2 separate regions of the Homo sapiens genome follow, and region 2 is linked to region 1. Evidence: promoter capture Hi-C in human tissues and cell types (Jung and others, 2019). All regions are on one chromosome and are shown on one strand. Each heading gives the region's core, a stretch centred on a gene start or on the middle of the fragment in contact. The rest is flanking DNA. Distances are from core to core; before and after follow the strand shown.

What was found. The method cuts DNA at HindIII sites, captures the fragments that hold promoters and counts their contacts. A contact is called where the count stands out against the background at its distance.
Region 2: a contact is called between a fragment that was not itself captured here and the fragment with the promoter of CALHM2 in region 1, in 2 of the 25 tissues and cell types used here (aorta and liver).

What each region holds. Positions count from the first base shown.
Region 1 is chr10:103,451,120-103,456,945 of GRCh38, reverse strand. It overlaps CALHM2 (calcium homeostasis modulator family member 2), which reads left to right and starts at 4,576. Exons shown (of 4, transcript NM_015916.5): 1 at 4,576-4,790; 2 at 5,661-5,826. CALHM1 (calcium homeostasis modulator 1) reads left to right here. Exons shown (of 2, transcript NM_001001412.4): 2 at 1,199-3,706. The coding sequence ends at 1,684. It overlaps LOC124902494 (a long non-coding RNA gene), which reads right to left and starts at 4,503. Exons shown (of 2, transcript XR_007062275.1): 1 at 3,710-4,503. RefSeq lists a silencer at 4,175-4,504 and enhancers at 4,343-4,964, 4,965-5,585, 5,534-5,826. The HindIII fragment of the contact is 12,335 bases long and covers 2,018-5,826 here.
Region 2 is chr10:103,579,794-103,585,521 of GRCh38, reverse strand. It overlaps NEURL1 (neuralized E3 ubiquitin protein ligase 1), which reads right to left. Exons shown (of 6, transcript NM_004210.5): 4 at 297-986. It overlaps LOC124902496 (a long non-coding RNA gene), which reads left to right and starts at 1,779. Exons shown (of 3, transcript XR_007062277.1): 1 at 1,779-2,810; 2 at 2,938-3,083; 3 at 4,533-5,551. RefSeq lists a silencer at 1,049-1,108. The HindIII fragment of the contact is 5,943 bases long and covers 1-5,531 here.

The DNA of each region.
Region 1 (5,826 bases), core at 3,327-5,826:
TTGGTGGCACATGCCTGTAGTCCCAGCTACACAGGAAGCTGAAGTGAGAGGATTGCTTGAGCCTGGGAGGTCAAGGCTGCAGTGAAATGTAATTGTGCCACTGCACTCTGGCTTGGGTAACGGAGTAAGACCTGTCTCAAAACAAAAAAGTAAATAAGATTAAAATAAAAATCGGAATTTTTCACATAAAAATCAGATTTTCAAGTTGGAAATCCAGAAAATCCAGCCCCACCAGGCCCGCGTGTACTCCTGGAACAGGCTGGGGTGCCCCCAGCCTATGCACATGCTCAGTGGCTCCCCACCCCGTGTGCTCTGTCACGACCTGCCTGGCCCCATAGGCATCTGGGCTTGCCCTCAGCCCCAGTCCTGATCTGCCCAAGTGCTTCTCTGTGCGGCTGGGGCCTAACCCTGAAGCGTGGGCCAGGGGAGCATCCTGCCCCGTGCCCTGCAGTGAGGTGACAGAGCAGAGCTGGAACCAAGCGCAGGGTGCTCTTCAGCGCAGAGTTTGATTTCTTGCCTGATTCGCCTCTATGACCCCTGAAGGCCCAGCTCAGAACCGACACAGAGGAGGTGCTCATTTGGCACTGGTGACAATACTAGGAGCCAAAGGAGAGGTTCAGGACTCAGAGGAAAATGGGCCACTATGGCCTGGGGAGATCAAGGAAGGCTTCCTGAAAGAAGAGGCACAGTAAGTAAGTGAGGGCCTATTGGCACAACAGTAATGGTTAATAGTCACTGAGCACTGGGTACCAGGCACTGCACTAAGCTTATCACATTCAGTCCTCACAACAACACTCTGAGATAGGTGCTACCACCAGCTGCTTTATAGGTGTGGAAACTGAGGCACAGAGAAGTTGAGTGCTTTGCTCCTGGTCAACTAGTAAATAGTGGAGACAGCATTCAAACCCAAGCAGCCTAACTCCAGGGTCTGCCCACTTAACTCCTGGGCCCTGGGTGCCCCGCCAGCACGGTGGGTGCTTTACCCACGTGATCTTCTTTCCATGAGGTGCACCTATCTCCATTATTTCAATTTCTATGCCCATTTTACAGATGAGGAAATGGAGGCCAAGAGGCAAGCTCACTTGCCCAATTTGTGCTCTTTGCCCTAGAGGCACTGGCATAGAGAGTGCTTTGGGAGTCTGAACAGGCTCGGAGGCCCAAGGACAGTGCCCCGTGACTCTCTCTCATCTTCCCACAGGCGCTGGGCTGGTCCTTCGTGCTGCTGACCACTCTGCTGGCATTCGTGGTGCGCTCTGTGCGGCCCTGCTTCACGCAGGCCGCCTTCCTCAAGAGCAAGTACTGGTCCCACTATATCGACATCGAGCGCAAGCTCTTCGACGAGACGTGCACGGAGCACGCCAAAGCCTTTGCCAAGGTCTGCATCCAGCAGTTCTTCGAGGCCATGAACCATGACCTGGAGCTGGGTCACACCCACGGGACACTGGCCACGGCCCCTGCTTCCGCAGCTGCCCCCACGACCCCCGATGGTGCGGAGGAGGAAAGGGAGAAGCTGCGTGGCATCACGGATCAAGGCACCATGAACAGGCTGCTCACGAGCTGGCACAAATGCAAACCGCCTCTGCGGCTGGGCCAGGAGGAGCCACCGCTGATGGGCAACGGCTGGGCTGGGGGTGGGCCCCGGCCTCCGCGTAAGGAGGTGGCCACCTACTTCAGCAAAGTGTGAGGTGTGGCCAGCTGAAGAGGCAGGAACGGGGATCTGAGCCCACAGCCCCTCCAACCCCCAAACCAGGTGGAAAAAGGAAGGGTTTCAGTGCTGGGCAGTACTCCCCTAGGCAGATCCACACTCCCTAGCACTCGCCTGCCCATTGGAGGCAGGAAATTTGGAGCTGGAAGGGGATCTGATGCCTTCAGGTGTGACACTGCCCTGGATGGCCCTAGGGCAGTGGGCCCATGAGCAGTATTAGTCTAAAGGGGTCGGAACTGTCATGGCAGGTACAGGGACCAATGGCTCCCCTCTGCCCAGCCCTTCCCAGGCTGATGTTCACTGTCTCCTCCCAGGTTCAACAGACATCCCTGCCCCAGGGTCCACCCTCGTCTGTGGCTGTTCAGTACCTCTCTTCCTTTATGCTCCGGGCTCGGGGAGTGGGAATCATCAGGCGTCTCATGAAGTGGGAGCCCTCTGATTTGGGCAAGCGTGTCGTAGGTGAGACTGGGTGTGCCGGGGCAGGTCCATAAGGACATGACACACAGCCTACCTGGTGTGACACACCTGGGGTGACAGGCGATGAGACAAGATGTCAGAAGCTAGGTTCACATGGAAGAGGTCAGAGTGTGTGGTCACCATGGGGGTCATGTGACAATTGTCCAGGTGGACTGCATGTTTATTTAGCACAAACCAAGCACAAAAGTCCTCCTGTAGAGGGGTCTTTGAAAAACCACCTTAATACCCCCGTCACATCCAGGTCTCCAGGGGAAATCAGACCATCCCCAAGGCTTGAGAAGTTAGACACAGAAGCTGAAGTCTCTCCATTTTTCTCAAAGACCCCACCTCTTGGGGATGGAGTTCTAAGAGGCTAAGAGGAGCTCCAAGGCTCTAGCCCAGGTGGGATGAGGGTGGAGGAGAGCAGTGTAAAGAGAAAGCAGCTCAGATTCCAGAGTGAGACAGAACTGGGTCAAATGGTGTCTCTACCACTCACAAACCCTGTCCCTGGGCCAGCTGCATCACTGCCTGTGCCTTCGTTTCTTCATCTATACAATGAGGATGAGGCCCCCCCGGCCCGCCATCATGGGGTTGCTGTGTGTAAAAGCACATGGCACATAGTAGGCACCCAGCACAGGGTGGCTAATGTATTTGTTGATTTCTGAACCTAAGGACTTCCTTCCTCCTCCCCTGGGCAGGGATGAGACAGCAACACAAACACTCGAGCTTCCATCTTGTTGAGGAGGAAACAGAGGTACAGATAGGTTTCTCAGCACCGCCCTCAGCTCTGAGACATAAGTCCCAAGCATCTAAGGATTCATTTTGATCTTGGCATGATTCCATCCTTTTTTATCCATCCTTCCCTCTATTCCCACTTCTGGGGTCCAGTTTCCCTCCTCTTAATTATTTGGGAGGAGTTGCTCAGATCTTTGTGGGCCAAGGTGGGCTGGGAGGGCTCTTCCAGGAGGTAGGAGTTGGTATGGGCCCTGAAGTCAGGGAGGATTAGGATGAGCAAAAAACAAGGTGTATGTTGGTGGGTGGCAGCACTTCCAGTGGGAAGAGAAGGCCCGGAGGTATCAGGAGGTACAAATGTGATGAAGAGCAAAGCTTTGGGTCAGGCACACCTGAGTTCAAATACCAGCACTGCAGGACTTGTGGCCAGTCACCCAGCCACTCTAAGCCTCAGTGTGTCTGTCTATAAAATGGATATTAGAAGACCTGCTTGGCCAGGCGGAGTGGCTCATGCCTGTAATCCCAGCACTTGGGAGGCCAAGGAGGGAGGATCACTTGAGCCTGGGAGTTGGAGACCAGCCTGGGCAACATAGCAAGACTCTGTCTCTGTAAAGTAATAATAATAATAAGAAGAAGAAGAAGAATAAAGAGAAGATTTATAATTTTTTTAAAATGAAAAAATTATTTTTTAAAAAAGACCTGATTTTCAGGATTGTGGTAAGGATAGAGGAAGATAACTTTTAGGGAAGGATCTGGGACTGTGTTTAGCACATGCTGGGATCTGAAACAAACAAATAAACAAGCAGAACTTGGTACCTTTTCTTTCCTTCGTACATATGGTCAAGCCCAGCTCAGGGAGGCCAGCGGGTCACTCGGCAGCTCCACCATGACGGAACCACGAGCACTGCAGAGCTGACAGATGTCGGGGGTCCTCTCCCTCCATGCTAAGGGTCATCTAGCCTGTCCGTAGACTCTCCTGTGCAGCATTCCTGACCCGTGACGCTTCAGCCCGCATCTTGACCACTTTTAGATACAGGCTGGGCAGCTCTGATTATTACACAGGGCTTCCTTCAGAAACCTGCCTCCTTGTAACTTTCACCCACCAGTTGGAGCTCTGCCTGCAGGACCCGGAGAATCCCTAGGCTCCTGAATTCAATCCTCAGCCCTCCAGGGATCCGAAGCAGGTCCCGGGGAGTTAGCTGACTATAGGTCAAAGAGTCAGCATTGGGGATGGTTTGTCCAGTCAATGGACAACTCTGAGGGAGAAGGGCCAGTAGAGGGTGGGGCCCTGGCCCTGAGCATCCTGCAGGGCTCAGCGCGGGCCTGACGACACCCTCCCTTGACCCTCGCGGGGTCTCCTTTGGTAGCTTCTGCCCAGCGGGGGTCAAGTACGTGGGGTGCTCTTGAAACTGTCATGGGGGGCAGGTCTGGGTCAGATCTCCCCAATGCCTCCACATCCCCACGTGGCCCTCCCGACTGGTCCCATTGGTGTGGAGCATGGCCCGGTCCGGGTCTGGGCCGAGGGCGGAGGGCCAGCACGGCCCAGGGACGGCGAGCAGCGGGTCGGTGGGACGCGCAGCAGCTGCAGAACAGGCATCTCAACTTCCTCTCGGCTCCTCTCCTCTCGCGCCGCCCTCGGGGCCCGCCCTCCTCTGCCTGGTGGCGCCGGGAGGCTGTTTTTCCACTCACTGGCGCGCAGACTCCATCCCACTGTTTTCTTCTCTCTTTTCTGGAGTTAGATTAGTCTGAAGCCGCCACCAGCCCCAGGCCCCCGTGCAGAAGAAAAGCGGGAGGGAACGGCGGAGGCCGCCGCTGCCCTGCACCGCCCTCCTGGAGGCCACTTGGAGAGTCCGGCCCCGAGGAGGCCATGGCCACAAGTGCCCACAGCTGGCCCCAGGTAAGGAAGGGGCCCTCCCTGGGGTGTGCCAGGTGTCAGCGGAGCATGGTGGGGCCTGTCCCACGCTGCCCAGAGGGAGAGAGGCCCCTAGCTGAGGTTCCCTCCACCCGGTTGAACAGGGAGCAGTCCTGCCCCTCCCCGAGCCGCCAGTCTCCTGTCGTCACTGATGTTGGAGGAGGTCCCACTGGGGGTCTGGATGTGACCCATCCTTGGCCTGGGGGCAGTGGTCTCAGAAGATGGCCTGGCCCATCCTCTGCTCACCACCCACCCTGTGCAGGTATCTTGTACCCCACTTTGAGCCAGTTTATGAACCCAGGGCCTCCACAGGGAGCTAATTAGGAGCCTAGAAGCCAAGAAGGGAAAAGGATGGGGCAAAGGGGGCTGACTTTAACCCATTCTTCCCCAGCAGTGATGCAAACTGCCTTTCCCAGGAAGTTAGGCTGGAAGCTCCAGGCTGTGAAGTGGGGGAAGAATCAGACTCCTCCTCCTCCTCCTCCTCCTCCTCCTCCTCCTGTTGTTCCTCCTGGTCCTCCTCCTCCAGCTTCTCCTTTTCTTGGAGTCTGCATGGCCACATGGCTCTGCCTGAGCCCATCTGGCAGCCTTCCTTGGCAGGGACAGAAGGGGTGATCTAGAAGGGGTGATCCCTCCATGAAGCATGGAAGGGAACAGGGCTAGGTCTGTGTTTGGCGCTCACCCCATCCCTCCACTCCCTGGCTTCCTCTGGCCTGGGGAGTTTTGTTTTTCACCCTCCAGAGGGGGAGGACATGGGGCCACACCCTGGCCTGTCTCTCAGGCTTGTGTGGGTGGAGGCTGGGAAGGGAGTTGGGCTAAACTTCGCTGTTGCCCGAGGCCATGGCCACTTCCCGGCAGGTTGCCAGCGTCGCTACAGCCCAGACCAAGGCAGAATAATCTCCGGATGAGCTGGTGGCACCGCTGAGCCTTTGGTCTCACCAGGGCTTCCTGTTGCTGGCAGGCGGGGTGGAGCGGAGCTGCTGGGAGGCTGCTGGATAGGAGAGGGGTCACGGCTGCGGAAGAG
Region 2 (5,728 bases), core at 1,311-3,810, 130 kb before region 1:
TGTGTGCTTCTGGACTGTTTATGTATCTGTGAGACTATGGGTTGATCTGATTCTGGGCATCAAACTCAATAATCCGCGCTTTCCCTCGCCTCACCCCCCAGGTGAGTCTCCCAGGTGACATATAAGGGCCACTGACAAGATGACCAAGTCCCGCCCAGAACTCACCTTAGGTGTCTGTGATTCCTTAGCAACACCATCATGAGCCTGGAGGAAGGGGAGCTCGCCCTTTGTCTCCTACCCGGATCGTCCCCGCCTCCAGGAAAGGCATACGCCCAGGCGCAGCTGCGGGCACTCACCGAGGATGCGGATCTGCGTGATGGTCCCGTGCAGGCCGAAGAGCATCCAAAGCGGCTGCGAGGCGTCCACGCACAGCTGCATGCCGGCGGCCGCGCCATTGTGGCTGAGGTGCAGCTCGCCGTCGGCGTTGACCACCAGGCCCAGGATGTCGCCGCTGTGCAGGGGCCCGGGCACGCGGCACACGGCCCAGAATTCCTTGCGGTCCACCAGGGCCTCAGGGCTGAAAGGCAGGTCGGCCGGCCGCAGCGTGCCGGGGTCGCACGTGGTGACGCCGAACGACAGCGCGCCGGGCCGCGCGCCACCCGAGCGCGTGACCTTGACGAAGATGGTCTCGGCCACGCGCACGGGCCGGCTGGTGAAGACGAGCGCGCGCTCGTCGCGCCCGTGCTCCACGCGCGCCACCGTCTGCTCGTCGAGGATGCGGACGTGCGCGCCGGCGCGCAGGGCGTGGAAACGCAGGTCGCCGTCGAGCTGCGCCGGCAGCGCGCGGCTGTGCTGCGAGTTGAGTGAGTTCTGCGGGATGGGGCAGCCGGCGGCCGGCGCGGCCTCGTCGCCGTCCGCGCCCGGCACGTTGAGGTCGCATAGGCTCACCGAGAGGCGCGCGTCGTCCGCCTCGCGCCGCAGCGACGGCCGCCGCAGGGCGGTGAAGGAGCGCGGCCGCAGACAGTCCGGGAGCACCAGCTCGCTATCTGCGCGGGAGACACGGGGCAGTGTCACGCAGGGCTCTCGGGAGGCGGCCCCGGCGCGCCCCGCTGTCCGGTCCCTACGCGCGCACCGTTACAATCCCGGATGGCTAATGGCGCACACGATGCTTGTGACATAAATTAGCGAACACAGTCAAGAAACGACTCTTGCAGGACATCTGTTTAAGCAGAGGAATAGGTGGGGGGAAGCACCGAAACTGAAACCATGTGGATGCTTCCAAATGCTCACAGGTGCTTGCTATATGCATATGTGTACTTCCTCATTTTCTACAGTAAACTTGTATTCCTCATAATTTAAAATTTTCAAAAATTTAACTCCTGGGCTCCTTCCGTCTTATCCCTAGCAGCTAGAACAGCGCCAAGCATTCTGTTGACAAACAGTAACCGTCTGTCGAGTGCACTGACGAAGGCCTAACATCCTGGAAAGCCAGGGAGCAACCACCCCCCAGCAAACACACAGACACCCTCTTTGCGTACATTGTCTCATCTAACCTTAACAATCACCTTTTGAGGCTACCATTGCCATGTCAGGACACAGGCTGAGAAGTAGATCTATCCAAGATACCCTTTTGAAAGTGGCTTAACAGGGAATCAAACTCATCGTTCTTTTTTAAATCATACAAGTTATACAAAATATAAAACGGTATTTTGTAGAAAATTCAGTTCAGCAAAAAGAAAAAACAATCGCCTATAAGCCCACCACCCAGAGAAAAGCATTTTTAATATTTGGATGTATGATCTTTTGGCCTTTTTAAAGGCTGTATTTTTGGGTTTTTTGTTTGTTTGGCTTTTTTTTTTTTTTTTTTTTTTTTTTTGAGACAGGATCTTGCTCTGTGGCCCAGGCTGGAGTGCAGTGGAGATATCTCAGCTTACAGCAACCTCCGCCTCCCAGGCTCAAGCCATCCTCACCTCAGCCTCCCAAGTAGCTGGGATGCACCACCGCGCCCAGCTAATTTTTGTATTTTTGGGGTAGAGACGGTATTTCGCCATGTTGCCCATCTGGTCTCCAACTCCTAGGCTCAAGCGATCCTCCTGCCTCAGTCTCCCAAAGTGCTACGATTAGAAGTGTGAGCCACCACACCCAGCTGGTTACTTTTTTTAGTGCAAAAATTGAGTCATGCTATATAAACATCACTTGTTTTTTACCTTTTATATGTACTACATCACTTTGAAAATGTGATGACATTGACCCTTTTCCCCAGAAAAATGAACATTCTCACTAAATTCTGTAGATAATTTCTCGGCATTCATGAACTACATGAAGCCATTCATGGGCAAGGACTCCAGGCTAAGAACCCTGGTAGCTTTTTTCAAAATTTTCAAAAATTTAACTCCTGGGCTCCTTCCATCTTATCCCCAGCATCTGAACACCTCTCCGTGCCAATAACTGTTTCCAACACCATATTCTTCTAATGGCTGTGTTATGTTCTGCTTTATGGAGTCCTATAACTTTCAATAAAAGTGATCACCATGTTCCATGAATTACCCCTGCAATTCATCCTTACGGCAGCCCGTGGAAGTGTTCCCGTTTTACAGATAAAGCTCAGCGGCGTTATGACAGCCGCCATGTGGCAGATCCAGGATTGAAAAAAAGGTCTGTCCAACTCCTAATGCCGCATTCTTCACTTCCAGACTCTCCTTGTTTATTGAAGCCTTTCTGCGTGAGTCAATCTCTCCAAATATGCCTGGTGCCACTGTAAGCCGCACCATGGACCGATCCCTTCCTTTGGGCCTTCTCCCTGAACCTCTCCAAGGGAGAATCTGTGCTGTCTCTTCAGGAACTGGGTTAAGGATGGCTGGGGTTCTCAGGTATGACAGCAAAGCTTGGGGGATTGGTCTGGTAGGGACAGCAGAGGCCAAAATTCAGTTCCAACTGAATGTAGACATGGTCACTAAACCTCCCTCTTTTCTTTCACCCTTTCACTGCCCCTTCCAGGAACTGTGTTGTCTGGCCCCCAGAAAGCTCTGGGTGTGGGCCCTTCCCCCCAAGCCTCCTGAAGCTCTGGAGAAGCCTCCTGGGGCCTGGCTGATTGGGGTTTCCTGGAATCGTGTTGGCGAGGAGGAGGGAGCCGGCCAGAAAATGTGATTATTCCAGGGAATTGACTCTGTGACAGTGATGGTGCATAGAGGCTGGGGGGCTGCAGAGAGGCAGAGGCAGAGGCCAGGAGGGCCTGTGCAGGGGGGAGGTAGGAGAGACAAATGGTGCAGAGTGGGGGAAAGCCAGTGGGCTGACCTGGACCCTGGGGAACAGTCCCTGCTCCCTCACCCCTCTGGGATTCCAGGCACTGACCCTTGGGAACTTCAGAGGGTGGGAGACAGAGAGGGGAAGGGGCAGTAACAGCAGGGAGAAGAGGAATCAGGTCGCTCAGAGATGTCCAGCCAGAGCCTCCAGGAACACAGCTGTCACAGGGCCCACACCACCCCCTCAGGACAATCAGTCCAGAGCTCCTGGGGCTGGGCAGACCCTCAGAACAGAGCTCTTAATGGGGCTGGATGCAAGCTATCCTGGTCTCTCTGCCCCTTCAGGAGTCCCCTTCTACTTAAACATGCACACTACCAGGTGCTCACTAACTTCCAGGCAACCTGTTCCATTGTGGAGTTAATCTGTCTTTAAAGAGTATTTCCTTCTTTTAAACCAAAATCTACCTCCCTGTATTTAACCCACTACCTCCTGAGCTGCCTATCAGCCCAGTACTGAAGACAATTCTCAGGGAATACTCAGAGTCCCCACACACCTTCCCACCTCTTAGATAATGAACAAAACCAGACTCAGTACTCTAGATGTGCACCAACCAGCTCAAGGCATAGTGTGGCCATCACCTCCCTTGGTATATATGCTATACTTCTAATAATGCAACCTAAAAGTACATTAGGTTTTTTTCAGTAACCAACATTCATATACTAGTAGGCAGGACAGGAGCACAGTTAAGTGCAATGAATTTGAAGTCATCAGTCTAGGTTCAAATCCTGGCCCTGCCATTTCCTGTATGACAGGGCTATATGACTGGACAAATAGCTGAACTTCTTGGGGCCTCTTCAGCAGTGAAATCAGCATCTACTGATTTACATAAAATCTGTATCTAATACTCCCCTTAGAAGAGACGCTGTGAGGATGAAAAGGAGTAAGGTACACAGGGCACCTAATAGGAGACCTGGCACAGTCATTAGGTTAATATAAGCCGTTGTTATTGGCATGTGAAATGCCACATGATTCAGAAGAAAGTGCATGGGCTTTGGGGTGATCCAGGTCTGGATCAGGCCTAGGTTTAAATGTCTGATCCAGCACTTGGCTGGTGGCTTTTGGGTAAGCAACCTTCCTCCCAGCCTCAAATTTCTCACCTAGAGAATAGGGGTAATAATACCTGCCCTGAGTTGTTGTTGGAAAGATCCGAGGTAAAGTGGGACCACCCCCAGCACCCAGAAGCTACCCGATAACTTCAGATATTAGTATTTGCTTGGCTTGAGCACAGTCTCAACTAAAAGTCAGGTACACCTGTCCTCAGACCATGGGCTTTTTGAACCTTAATGCAGGATTTCACATCAGTCATGATGGGTACCCAGGAAATACTCATTGAATGAAATCACCAAAGACCAAGAAGCAGCAGCTAAAATGTAGAGGTGAGAGGATAAAGAAGAAAGAAAGGAGAAACAGTGGAGGATGTACAAAGAGAAGGGGGTAGGAAGAGGATCCCTTTAGCCTTGCTTGAAATCTTGCTAGAGTTGGGAGGGGAGGGACAAAAGCTGCTGGGAAACAGCTAAAAACGGAACGAATCCCTAGGGCCAGTGCCCAGCCCAAGTCTGTCTTCTCTCCCTCTCCACCCCTCAGGGTCAGGAGCAGCTGCAGGCAGCCAGCAGCTCCAAAATAACCATCCCATCAGTGAGCCCAGCTGTGTCGAAGCCCTGAAATAGATGAAACTCGAGACACAGGAGCTGGTTAGAACACCCTCCGCAGAAGGGACGGCAAAGGTCACAGTTGAGTGAGCTGATACCAAGTTAGAGGTCAGGGCAGTGTTTGGGGCCCCAAGCCATGGGAGAACACCATGGGACCAACCTCGGCCCAAGACTGCACCACTTGATGGGTAAGGCTTAGAAAAACCAGATGGGCAACCTCTCACCCCAAGCAGTGGGGTGGCCCCACATTCGGAAGCAACAAGTTACATAATCGGTGCCGGGACACGTGCCCACCTGCTTTGGAGGTGTTTATGATGGGAACAGAGATGGCACAAGGCCATGAGGAGAAGCCGCTAAGCTGACTACCCTTGCATGTCCCATCATTCAGGAAAGAACCTGTCAGTCTTCAGCTCTTGCCTGTTCTGGTGCCCGGCAGTGGCTCTACCAACACCCTGGGCCAGAGCAAAAATAAGCAGACCCTGCCAGGGCAGGGAGGTCCCGGCCATGTGTTTCCCCTCCTCTAGGTGGTGCTGGGGGCCCTACTCACTGACCTACTGTGTGCCCAGCCCTGGGCAGGGAGTCTGGGAGAGGGAGGAGCCAGGAACTGGGCCCTGGGAGCCAAGAGTCAGTGGAAGGGGCAAGGCTTAAAGGCAGGACATGTTTTTTTTATTATTATTATTTTTTGATACGGGGTCTCGCTCTGTTCCCCAGGCTGGAGTGCAGTGGCACGATCTAGGCTCACTCACTGCATCCTCTGCCTCCCAGGTTCAAGCGATTCTTGTGCCTCAGCCTCCAAAGTGGCTGGGACTACAGGTGCACACCACCACGCCTGGCTA